Linked DNA regions of Homo sapiens: region 1 is linked to region 2. Evidence: promoter capture Hi-C in human tissues and cell types (Jung and others, 2019). All regions are on one chromosome and are shown on one strand. The core of a region is centred on a gene start or on the middle of the fragment in contact, and the rest is flanking DNA. Distances in the headings are between cores, read along the strand shown.

Region 1 (6,805 bases), core at 1-2,500, 210 kb before region 2:
CAGGAGAATAGCTTGAACCTGGGATGCGGAGGTTGCAATGAGCTGAGATCACTCCACTGCACTTCCAGCCTGGGCAACAGAATGAGACTCCGTCTCAAAAAAACAAAAACAAAAACAAAAAAAAACTCCCACAACTTTTTGAGAGTTGGAAGACCATGAAGTATAGTATCTGGGACTTAGAGTCTGGCCATTAATTTTGAATACCATCCTTTCTACTTATCTGTATGGCAAGGGGTGAGATGTCCATCCTCTGAGACTCAGCACTCTCATCTGAGTTGATTTGTAGTTGATCCAATGGAAGTGAGTGATGATTAAACCGATCGTGGGCTCCCGCTGCATGATCTCTATGATGGATGCATAAAGTAAAGGTAAAGTGAATTTTAGATACATTTGTTAATATTTTAAGCTTAAACTCCATACAATTCAATGGAAATATCCCCTGACCTGAAGTTCTGGTTTCCCTGCATTCCAGACAGGACATTTTATTTTGTCCTTATCTCAGTAAGTACTGAGTATTGTGAGAGGAACAAGTGAGTCTCTTTTGTTTCTGACTCCCCAGAGCCTACATCTTGCTTGGCACATAGGAGACAGCAAAAGTAAACATCTATGTGAATTATTGAATTGACACTTCCTTGGTTCACAAAAATTGGCTGTCATCAGTGTGACTTCGACTTACGTGATTCTTTTTGTTTTTTGTTTTTTGAGACGGAGTTTTGCTCTTGTTGCCCAGGCTGGAGTGCAGTGGTGTGATCTCAGCTCACTGTAGCCTCTGCCTCCCAGGTTCAAGCCATTCTCCTGCCTCAGCCTCCTGAGTAGCTGGGACTACAGGTGCCCTCCGCCATACCGGGTGAAGTTTTTGTATTTTTAGTAGAGGCGGGGTTTCACCATGTTGGCCAGGATGGTCTTGATCTCATGACCTCGTGATCTGCCCTCCTCGGCCTCCCAAAGTGCTGGGATTACAGGCGTGAGCCACCGCGTTTGGCCAAACTTTCTGATGAAAACTCTAAGTCCCCCTAAGCTAAGGACAGGAGTTATAGCTTACATGAATTTTAAAACAAGACCCACCGATTTGAGTAAGCAATTACTCTCTTGAAGGAGAAAAGTCAGAAAACATAATGATGAAATCACTAGGACCTAACTCGCATGTGGAACTATTTTCTGCTTATGAACTATCAACTTTAAGTTCATTTCCAGATGGCATGGTCTCAGCTGTTATACAGTGTTTATAAATGTTCTAAATCAAGGAAATTTGTATCAATCTATTAGAATAAAAAATATTTGAGTTCTTAATTTTCTTTAGTTAGGATAACCTTTTTCTTAAAGTGAAGAGAATGGTTTTATTACATATTTTTCTTCGGAAAAGATAGGCTGTATTTTCTAGCAATTATGAATTTGTTATTTATGATGATCTGGTTCTTGGAACATTCTTGAATCTAGTGTCTCTAAGGCAGGTATGTACAGCAAGAACTGAATAACACAGAATCAATGATGAAAGCATTATAAGACAATTCATTTTGTCAGAACTGCAAAATATTCCTGAGTGTGGATTGCTCTGGAATCTGAAAACATTACTTGTGAATTGCTTGTATCCAAAATGCAGACACAATGCTGGGTGTTGGTTTACTTGTTTCTGATTTCTCAACGCTCTTTTCTAGGCAAAAGTTGTCCAAACTATACAGACCCACAGAATCTAACAGATGTCTCTATATTCCTCCTCCTAGAACCTCAGAGGATCCAGAACGGCAGCTGGTCCTTGCTGGACTGTTCCTGTCCATGTGCCTGGTCATGGTGCTGGGGAACCTGCTCATCATCCGGCCATGAGCCCTGACTCCCACCTCCACACCTCCATGTACTTCTTCCTCTCCAACCTGTCCTTGCCTGACATCGGTTTCACCTCCACCACGGTCCCCCAGATGACTGTGGACATCCAGTCTCGCAGCAGAGTCATCTCCTATGCAGGCTGCCTGACTCAGAAGTCTCTCTTTGCCATTTTTGGAGGCACGGAAGAGAGACATGCTCCTGAGTGTGATGGCCTATGACCGGTTTGTAGCCATCTGTCACCCTCTATATCATTCAGCCATCATGAACCTGTGTTTCTGTGGCTTCCTAGTTTTGCTGTCTTTTTTTTTTCTCAGTCTTTTAGACTCCCAGCTGTACAACTTGATTGCCTTACTAATGACCTGCTTCAAGGAGGTGGACATTCCTAATTTCTTCTGTGACCTTTCTCAACTCCCCCATCTTGCCGTTGTGACACCTTCATCAATAACATAATCATGTATTTCCCTACTGCCATATTTGGTTTTCTTCCCATCTCGGGGACCCTTTTCTCTTACTATAAAATTGTTTCCTCCATTCTGAGGGTTTCATCATCAGGTGGGAAGTATAAAGCCTTCTCCACCTGTGGGTCTCACCTGTCAGTTGTTTGCTGATTTTATGGAAGAGGTGTTGGAGGGTACCTCAGTTCAGATGTGTCATCTTCCCCCAGAAAGGGTGCAGTGGCTGCAGTGATGTACACGGTGGTCACCTCCATGCTCAACCCCTTTATCTACAGCCTGGGAAACAGGGATATTAAAAGTGTCTTGCGGCGGCCGCACGGCAGCACTGTCTAATCTCAATATCTTCTTATCTGTTCCATTCCTTTTGTAGTGTGGGTTAAAAAAGGCAGCAAGGTCAAATAAGAATGATATCACAGGGTGAACACCCACTGTGATATTAGGAGTAATACCTCCCTAGGATATAAAATATACTGTCACAGAGTATACACACATGCGGTACACCCACTGTGATATTAGAAGCAGTATCTCCCTTAAATATTATGAAAAATATCACAGGGTGTGCACACTGTGTGATATTAGGAGTAATATTTACCCTGGATATTACGACTAATATCAAGGGTGTACACACACGGGGTACACGCACTGTGATACCAGGAGTTGTATCTCCCTAGGATATTATGAATAATATCACAGGGTATACACTATGTGTGTACATCCACTGTGATATTTGAAGTAATATCTCTCTATGAGATTACAAATAATATCAAAGGGTGTACACCCCTGTGACATATTAGGAGTAACATCCTTCTAGGGTATTACAGATAATGTCACAAGCTGTACACCTTCTGTGACATTTTGTACACTCTTTGTGACATTAAAAGAAACATCTCCCTAGGATATTATGAATAATGACACAGGCGGTGTACACACATGGTGTACACCGCCTGTGCCATCAGGAGTAACATTCCCCTAGGATATTATGAATAATATAACAGCAGGTGTACACACATGGTGAACACCCCATGTGACATTAGGAGGAACATGCCCCTAGGATATAGGAATAGTATCACAGATGTTGAATACACATGATATACACCCCCGGTGACATTAAAAGTAACATCCCCCTAGGATATTACGAATAATATCACAGGGAGTACACCCCATGTGACATTAGGAGTAACATCCCCCGAGGATATAACGAATAATATCAGAGGGTGTACATGCATTGTGACCTTAGTAGTAACATCTCTTTAGGATACTACAAATAATATCACAGGGTGTACACGCATTGTGACATTGGTAGTAACATCCCGCTAGGATATGACGAGTAATATCACAGGGTGTACACCCCCTGTGACAACAGTAGTAACATTCCGCTGGAATATGAAGAATAATATCACAGGAAGTACAGCCCCTGTGATTTACGAGTAATATTTCCATAGAATATTACAGGTCATATCACTGTGTGACTCTGTGTACACCCCGTGTGGCATTAGGAGTAACATCCCATAAAACTATTACGAATAATATCACAGGGTGAACACCCCCTGTGACATGAGGAATAACGTAGTTTTAGGATATTATGAATGATATGACAAGGGGTACACAGCCTGTGATGTTAGGAACAATATCCGTCTAGGATATTAGGAATAATATCACAGGGAACACACCCCCTGTGATATTAGGATATTATGAATAATATCACAAGGTGTACACGCATTGTGACATTAGTACTAATATCCCTCTCGTATACTATGAATAATATCACAGGGTGTACCTCCCTGTGACATTAGGAGTAACGTTCCCCTAGAATAGGACAAATAATATCACAGGGGGTACACACCCTGTGACTTTAGGAGTATCACCGCCCTGGAATATGAGGAATACTGTCTCAGGGTATTAACCCCCTGTGACCTGAGGAGTAACATCCCACTGGAATATTACGAATAATATCACAGTGTGTACACCAACTGTGATATTAGGTGTCCTATTTATTTTTAGGATATTAGGATACACAAATTGTGTGTACACCCACTGTGATATTAAAAGTTATATCTCCCTAGGGTATTGCAAATAATATAATGGGTGTACACCCACTGTGATATTTGAAGTAATATCTCCCTAAGATATGACAAAAAATATCAAAGGGTGGACCCCGTCTGTGACATCAAAAGTAACATCTCTTGTGGATATTCCGAATAATATCACAGGGTGTACACAGCCTGTGACATTAGGAGTAGCATCCCCATAAGATATTCCGAGTAATATCACAGGTTGTACACCCCATGTGACATTAAGAGTAACATCTTCTTAGGATATTGTGAACAACATCACAGGGTGTACACCCCCTGTGACTTTAAAAGTAACATCCCCCTAGAATATTACAAAAAATATAATGGGTGTATACCCCGTGTGATATTGGGAGTAACATCTCCCTAGGATATTACGAAGAATATCACTGGGTGTACATCCTCTGTCATATTAGGAGTAACATCCTTCTAGGATATTATGAATAATATCACAAAGTGTACACACACTGTGATATTCGGAGAAATATCTCTCTAGGATATAAGGTATCATATCACAGAATGTACACACATGGTGTACACCCACTGTGATATTAGAAGCAATATCTCCCTATGATAGTATGAAAAATATCAAAGGGAGTACACTGTGATATTAGATGTAATGTTTACCATGGATATTACAAATAATATCACAGTGGGTGTACACACATAAGGTACACCCACTGTGGTATTATTTGTACTTTCTTAGAGAGATGTAACTCTCTAATATAACACAGAGAGCTATAACTCTGTAATATCTCTGAGATATTACAAATAATTTCACAGTGGGTGTAGTGTACACCCACTGTGAGATTTACAGGAATATCTCCCTATAAGACTACAAATATTATCGAAGGGTGTACACCCCCTGTGACCTTAGGAGTAACATCCTTCTGGATATCAGGAATAATATCATAAGGCATACACACCCTGTGACATTTTGTACACCCTTTGTGACATTAAAAATCACATCCCCCTAGTATATTATGAATAATATCAAAGGCGGTTGACGCACACGGTGTACACATCCTGTTACATTAGGCATAATATTTTTCTGTGATTTATGAATAATATCACAGAAGGTGTACATACATGGTGTACACTCCAGGTGACATTAGGAGCAACATCCCCCCAAGATATTAGAAATAATATTACCAGGGTTGCATACACATGGCGTACTCTCCCTGTGACATTGGCAGCAACATTCCCCTAGAATATTATGAATAACATCAGAGGGGGTGTACACACATAACGTATGCACCTTGTAAAACTAGGAGTAGCATCTCCCTAGGATGTTATGAATAATATCACAGAATGTGTACACACATGGCGTATACCCCATGTGATGTTAGGAGTTACATCCTTCTAGTATGTTAGGAATAATACCACAAAGGTGTTCCCACATGGTTAACAGCATATGGAATATTAGGATTAACATCCCTCGAGAATAGTACAAATAACATCACAAGGGCTGTGCGCACATGGTGTACATGCCCTGTGACATTAGGAGTACATTTCCCTGACAGATTACGAGTAATATCACAGAGTGTACACCTTCTGTGACATTTGGAGTAACATCCCCTAGGATAGTACGAAAAATATCACAGGGTGTACCTGGGGAGTAACATCTTTCTAGGATATTGTGAATAATATCACAAAACGCACAGCCCCTGTGACACGAGGAGTAACATCCACCTAGGATATTATGAATACTATCACAGGGAGTACACCCCTTGTGACAGTAGAAGCAACCTCCCCCAAGGATATAACGAACAAATACAGAGGATGTACACGTGTTGTGACATTAGCAGTAACATCCATTTAGGATATTACGAATATTACCACAGTGTGAACACCCCCTGTGATATTAGGAGTAACATCCCATTACAATATGGGGAACCATATCATACAGTGTACACCCCCTGTGACATTAGAGGTAACATTTCTTTAGGATATTATGAATAATATTACAAGGTGTACAGCCCCTGCAATATTAGGAGTAACATGTCCATAAAATATTATGAATAATATCACTGTTTGTACACCACGGGTGACATTAGGAGTAACAGCCCCCAAAACTATTATGAATAACTTCACAAGGTGTACACCCTCTGTGACATTAGGAGTAACATCTCTCTAAAATATTACGAATAATATCGCAAAATGTACAACCCCTGTGACATTAGAAGTAACATCGCCTGAGGATATAAGAAATAATAACAGATTGTGTACCTGCATTGTGACATCAGTAGTAGCATCGCTTTAGGGTATTACGAATGTTATCAGAGTGTGAACACCTTCTGTGACATTAGGAGTAACATCACCCTACAATATTGGGAATAATACCACACGGTGTACACTGCCTGTGACATTAGTGGTAACATTTCTTTAGGATATTAAGAATAATATGACAGGGTGTACAGCCCCTGTGATATTAGGAGTAACATATCCAAAAAAACTTTA
Region 2 (6,546 bases), core at 1,177-3,676:
GGTGGAAAGACAAGCTGAGCCTCCATCCCCCACACCCAAGGGACCCCTGTGTCTCAAACAGGGGGTACAGGTTCTTCTCCACTCTCAGGCAGAGATGCCAGCTGCAGACTGGATACTCCTCCGGGCTCAGGGAGCTGCCACCATGCTATTTCCTGTGCCCAGAACCCCTCCTGCCCACACTCACTTCTTCTTGTAGCCCTCCAGCACCTCCTGCACGTGGTTGAGCTCTGAGGCCAGCCTCCCACTGTCAGCCTCCACGCACTCGGCCTCCCGCCGCAGAGTCTCGATGTAGCCAGCAAACAGGGGCTCCAGGTTACTCTGGCAGCACTCGCGGTTTTGGTAGAACTGCAGCTTTGTCTCCAGCAGCTTGTTCTGCTGCTCCAGGAAGCGCACCTGCCACCCAGAGGCAGAGCCTAAGAACCTCTTCTTGCAGCATCAGAGGACAAAGAGGGGTTCCCAGCACGAGGGCCTGAAAGCCCCCAACTCTCTGACCCAGAGTCTTCCCTGGAAGGCGTTATGTCATCTCTCTCAAAAATGCCACCAGGGCTTAACCAGTTCACCACCTGGAAGTTCTTCCTGGGAGTTAATCTCTTCTAAGTCAGTTTACCTGGTGTCATGGAAAATGCTTGAAGAGTCCAGATTCTGCTGCCACTTGTTAACATTGTGCCCTTGGATAAAGCACTCACCTCCTCTGTAGAGTGGCGAGGTTAAAGCTCACCTTACTATGAGGATTAAAAGAACCCTTTAACAGAAAGGCACCCCACACTGAACAGCTACTGCTGTTCAATCACACCAAGCCAGGTGGACCTTTTTAGAAAGGCAAACTGTAAAAGTTGAAAAATAAAGCATGTGCCAATTATTCAAACCCTACAACAACAATGCAATTAGAATAATAGTCACCTGCAATATGAGAGTAGGAATGTCCTGTGCTCCAACCCCCTTATTTTACTGATGAGGCCAAGGAGGTTCCCTGACTGCCTGAGAGCTCACAGTGGCAGAGAAGAGCTCAAACTCCGATCTTCTGCGCTGCAGGGGGTGTCTTCTCTCCCTTTGACAATTATAGGAACATCCCTCTCCCAGCGATGAGGTTGGCCCACTACTCCACTCAGCTTCTTTTGTCTAATAACTTGGCCACACCCTTGGTAGGTCCTATCTTATGCTATCCTTGGTCTCTCATGCTATTAGAAATTCCACATTTTTTTTTCCCGATCCTTTCTGGTGGGCATCTCTCTAGTGTGACTCCTCTCTTGAGGTTTTGGCTCTGGAGGGCTCTTTCCAACCCCAGAACATGTTCCTAGTCAGAGCCTTTTCTCCCAGTCTCTCACATCACTGCCACATGGTGGTTGCCTGGATTCAGTGGAGAAGGTGGCTGCAAACTCTAGTTGGACACTGACTACACAGATGGTTTCAACCAAACCCAGACTGTGCACTGCCTGCCTCCCCATAAAGCCTGTGAGGATGGGGACCATGACTCTTGCTCACCCCTGGATCCTGAGCCCCAGGAACAGTGGCTTGGACAAAATACTCTAGACCCTGCTCAGTGGCCAAATCACTGTGTGGTATAGAAAGAGTTCTGTGCCATCCACGAGACCCACTTCCAGACAGTTTTCCAGCACCACACTTATTAGCCCTGCCTTGATGGAGACAGCATCTCCTTGGCATTTAAGCAGTTATTTGGCTTCAAATGCCCTGAGCGCCCACACAGTGGTCCTTTGCTCACTAGGTGATATTATCACTCAGTGTGGAAGGCTCTGCCCCTCGTTCTGCTTTTGTGTTTTCAGTTAATCTCCCCCATCAGTCTGGTAGCTCCCGGTCCCATTTTTGTCTTTCTGTCTGTGTCCTAGAAGTATGACTACCTTTCCCTTTGGCCTGGGAACTTCTGTGGGCAAGTTCTTGCCTTTGACTTCCCTGTCAGTGCCCAGCCTGAGTTCTGAACATGAGTAGGGGTTCAGGAAGGGTGTGATCCAGGACGACACCCACCTTGTCGATGAAGGCCGCGAATCTGCTGTTGAGGGACTTGATCTGCTCCTTCTCCTCCTGCTTCACGCACTGCGCGTTGGGGTCTATCTCCAGGTTGAGGGGCGTGAGGAGGCTCTCGTTGACCGACACGGTGGTGATGCATGGGGGGCTGGGTCCGCACACGCCCCCGGAGCGGTAGCCGAAGCTGCGTCCGCAGGAGCCGGCGCGGAAGCCCCCGCACACGCTGTGGCTGCCAAAGCCCCCGGTGAGGCCGCGGTAGCAGGAGATGCCGCGGTAGGGGGCGGCGGTGATGCAGCAGCGGCTTGGCCGGGGCCCGCAGGCAGAGACACAGCTGAAGTTTCCAGGGCGGAACCCACAGCCTATGGAGTTGAAGCCACAGGTCATGACGGAGGTTAGGAGGTGTCTGAACAGTGGAGTAGATGGCAGAGGATGGAACCAAGGGCCTGTGCTCCCTGGCTGATGGCAGGCCCTTTTATGTGCCAGGGGCAGCTGGTGTTAAAAGAGGGAGCAAAGAGACAATAGCTGAATTTTATTGGCTTGGCATCACCCTGGCCTCTTAAGCTAGAACCCTGCTTGCCTCTTCAGTGTGGCTGCATCAACAATCCCTGGCCACGGGCCCTGTTTCATCTTCAAAGCCCTTTATAAGCTTCCTCCTTGCTCCTGCCCCTCCCACTGGCACTGCTGTGGAGCGGGGAGAGGGGTTCCTGAAAGCATTAGTTGCATTCTGCGGTCCAAGCGAGGGGAATGGGTGCAGTGACCTGGGGTAAAGCCTGCTCTCTGAACCCTGTTCTGAAAGGGGCAGAGCTAGGCTATGGGCCCTGGACCCATGGCCAAGCCCTGGGGTGGAGTGGCTGGCCTGTCCCAAGGAGGGGGCTGCCTCTGAGACAACCTCTTGCTGTAGGCTTTCCTGTCTTTTTCTCAAAGGCGGGTTCCTTTCCTCATTGTCAAGATTGGCCGCTCCTATCCTATTCCTGCTCAGAGCCTGGTCAAGGATGGGAGTGGGGGTAGAGATTTGGGGTGGGAGGAGGGCATGTTCTTTGCACTTTGGGTATTCCTAGTGCAGGGACACCATCTGGGACATGGAAGAAACTGATTCAGAGAGTTCAGGACAGTGCCAGGGCTATGCTTCAGAGTTCCAGGTGTCATTGCTGATGGGATCAGGAGCGGGGAGTGTGGAATACCTCAGAGCTCCAGGGACTCATGGAGGAGAGTGGGGACCTGGGCTTGAGGAGGATTGGGGTGGGGTAGTACAGGATTGAGAGATGACCAGAAAAGAGTCTGGCTCTGATTTGCAGACTAGACTATGTGTATTCATTTATTCATTTATTCATTTATTCATTTATTCAGGAAATACTTATTTGGTGCCCACCAACTATGCACTAGCCACTGTGCTAGGTTCTGGAAATCCTACAGAGACCTGGGGTGTTTGGAGGTAGCATGCATGTGGGGGAGCCAACATTTGGCTAGGGGGAAAGATGAGAAGCCACAGATGGGGGGAAGGCCCTCACAATGTCCAGGCTGATTGGTGTTCTTTAGGTTCCCAGCAGGGAAGCTCAGTGATGGGGTCTTGGGGTGTATGTACTCACCAGGAAGGAGGGAAGGTGCGGGAGGTGAGGGACATCAGCAGGGTCCTTAAATGAGATCACTCTCTCACCTCAGAGAACACACTGGGTGAGAGAAGGGTGCTAGCTCATGTGGCTGTTCCTAAAGCCAAGCTCTCTTACTTTGGGCCCTTGTTCCTTTGGGTTAGGACAGGCAATGGCTTTGATGGATGGACAGTCGGACCGAGCCAGGAGGTTTGCCTTAACCCGAGGACCTGAGCCCATCAACCCTTCCAAACACACATCTCTGGACTGCTTTCGTCAGGAGAGGATGAGGAGGACTCCACTGATGGACCTGTGTCCTGACCCAGCCACAACCCAACACTGACCCACTCTGGGCTAATAGTAACCCTCCTGTGACTCTCATCTTTTGCCCTTCCCACTCCCGCTCAGGATGAGTGGGCCAGTTATATCCCAGAGTGGGGATCTGGGGATGATGGAAGAGGGGCCCATCTTCTGTGGGCCTGAGGGAGGGCAGGCGATGGTGCTGTTGAAATCTCTTAGGGAGCTGGACATCTGCCATGGATCCAAAAAAAGGACTCTCCTAGCCTCTCTTCTTGGGTCCTGTGGACAGGCTTCCAGAGTCTTGTGTCTGGGGCAGGAACTCTGGGGGTGTGGGCTGTGTGATAGGGGATCCTGGTGTGAAAGACACACCAGGGAGGCACAGCCTGAGGGTACCTGGGGGGCCTGGGGGTGGCTGACTGCAGCTGAGTGGCTAGTGGGATTTTGGGAGCATCTTTGAGGGAGGCTGGGCTGGCTGGTGCTGTCATGTTCAGTCTTGGTTGGGTCAAACATCTGCTAGACAGCCAAGAAAGACCAGGCTCTTCACCCACCCACACTGGAACCAGTGAGCACCTGGAATGCTCTCCACACATATCCAATGATTATGGGGGATCTGTTTCTTGGTGAAATGCTGAGGACTGCAGGGCAGTGAACCCTCTGTGAAGCATTTCTCCATCACGATGCTGGAAACTGCGCTGCTGTCTTCTGACCTGGCTCATCTGTCTCAATCCAGCAGGCTTGGATCATGTTGGACCCCTCCACCGAGGGGCTCTGTGTAGACACATGACCTCCTTGGGATGGGGGAGCCATGACCATGCCCACCCCTGCCCTGATTGGCTCTGAAGATAGCATGGACCCTGGAGATAAAAAGACACAATTCGAAGCCCAACTATATCTCTTACTAGCTTTGTGCCATGGCACAGGCGTTTTCCCCCAGGGTCCTTACTTGTGAAATATAAATGGTAATCCACAGCTTGCTGGAGGTTGGGAGGACCGAGCGAGTGCCTGGTGGAGGGAAGCGCCACCCCCACCTCACTTTGTGCTAGCAGGGTGACTGGGTCTTGGTTGCAGGCACCTGGCAGGGCCTTGCAAAGGGACAGTGTACACGGCTAGTGAGATGCAGAGTACCATTCCTGGGTAAGCAGAAAGCAGTTTTACAAGGCAATCATTGCCGCCTCAGAAAGCCTTAATTAGAGCATCTATTTGTAAATGGCTCAGAACAAAGAGAACTGCAGACCAGGAGTCCCTTGAAAACAGACTTAGACAGGAAGCTGACAAAGAGACAGCAGCACCCAAATCCCCAGGCTGCCTCTTCCCTCCTGGGCTCCAGGCTGTGATTGGTTCCCGCCCTAACCATGGGCCCATAAAGGGTCCGGCAGAGCCACAGGCTGTTTCAGTCACCAGGGCCTGGACTCTGTGCCTGCCCTTCACACCTGGTCTGGGTTGGCCTGGAGGAATGACCGCTTGCCCTGTTGATCTGGTCCTCAGATTCCCACCTGTCTCTCTTGGGGTGCAACCCCCTGGCCTTATTCCTGTGTGCTTTTCTGGTGTCTACCTGCCTGTCTGCTGGGTTTCTGACACTCTGATACTCTGACTTTTGTCACTTCTTTCTTGCCTTAATATCCATGTTGCTTCACATTTTTTGTGCCTTCTTAATGGATTTTTGATAAACAACTCTGAAATGAACATTAGTAAACACATCTTTGGGCACCTGTCTAGTAATTTCCTTAAAACAAATTCCTGGAGGTGAAATCGTTGAGTAAAAGGGGACTGTTCTGGTCTTCTCCAGGTGTGCCTGGCCACAGGTCTGTTGCTCACCTGGCTGTGGAAGTGACATTTCCATGGGAAGCCTGCTGCAGTGAAGTCATTAGATCTGGGAGTCCTGGAAATATGGCTGCAGCTCTCATTTCAGTCACTGTGTGTGTGTGATGCTTTAGCTAATCTCTGTAAACCTTGTGTCTTCATCTGAAAAATGAGGATTCTAATACTGGCCTTTTTGGCCTTTGCGAAGATGAGCTGGGGTGGTGCATGGGAAGCCCGTGGAAGGCACGCAATCCAGGAGGGTGGAAGGTGCATGCGGCTTCCTGCTCCAGGCAGGAAGAATTCTTTGATGCCTCCAGTTTTGCCTTCTGGCCTTGAACTCACAACACACCTCCAGAGCTGATAAGATGTGGCACCTTCACATACTCACTACTATTTACTATGCAAGTTCTCTGTACCGAAGAGGAGGGAGAGAGATTTAATACACAGCCCCCGTCCTCAAGGATCCAACAAAGTAGTTGGGCAGATTTGTAAGTATGCACAATTTGTATTCTGGATGAAGCAGTTCTTCAAGACTCCTCTTCCTCGGAGTGGGAGCTTGCTTTGGGCTGGAGCAGTCAGAGGCTTTGTAGGAAAAGTCAGACTTGAGCTGAGATTTGAAGGATAGAGGGGTTTGGAAAGGTCAGAAGGGTGGAGGCAATGCCAGGCAATGAATGGAAGAAGAGCACAGACGTGTTCACAGGGCGGTGGATACCGTGGTTGAAGCTTAGAGGATGTCACACCTAAAGGATGAACTTGAGGCACATGCCAATGAAGACTGAGAGCAAGACAAAGGTGTCCATTCTCAAGGCCATGCTGTAAAATACTAGAATTCCTGGCCAAGAAAAGAAATGTCTGTAAGAATTGGAAGAGAAGAGATAGA

What was found. Contacts are between HindIII fragments. The study calls those that stand out against the background at their distance.
Region 1: a fragment that was not itself captured here is called in contact with the fragment with the promoter of KRT83 in region 2 in 2 of the 25 tissues and cell types used here (dorsolateral prefrontal cortex and mesenchymal stem cells).

What each region holds. Positions count from the first base shown.
Region 1 is chr12:52,105,658-52,112,462 of GRCh38, forward strand. SMIM41 (small integral membrane protein 41) reads left to right here. Exons shown (of 3, transcript NM_001369216.1): 3 at 1,722-2,598. It overlaps SMIM41-AS1 (SMIM41 antisense RNA 1), which reads right to left. Exons shown (of 4, transcript XR_007063312.1): 2 at 1-344. It also overlaps the pseudogene OR7E47P. Among named protein-coding and RNA genes, the nearest start is that of SMIM41-AS1, 9.2 kb to the right of the region's middle. The HindIII fragment of the contact is 8,588 bases long and covers 1-5,544 here.
Region 2 is chr12:52,318,972-52,325,517 of GRCh38, forward strand. KRT83 (keratin 83) reads right to left here and starts at 2,427. Exons shown (of 9, transcript NM_002282.3): 1 at 1,981-2,427; 2 at 185-393. The coding sequence starts at 2,364. The HindIII fragment of the contact is 13,306 bases long and covers 1-4,507 here.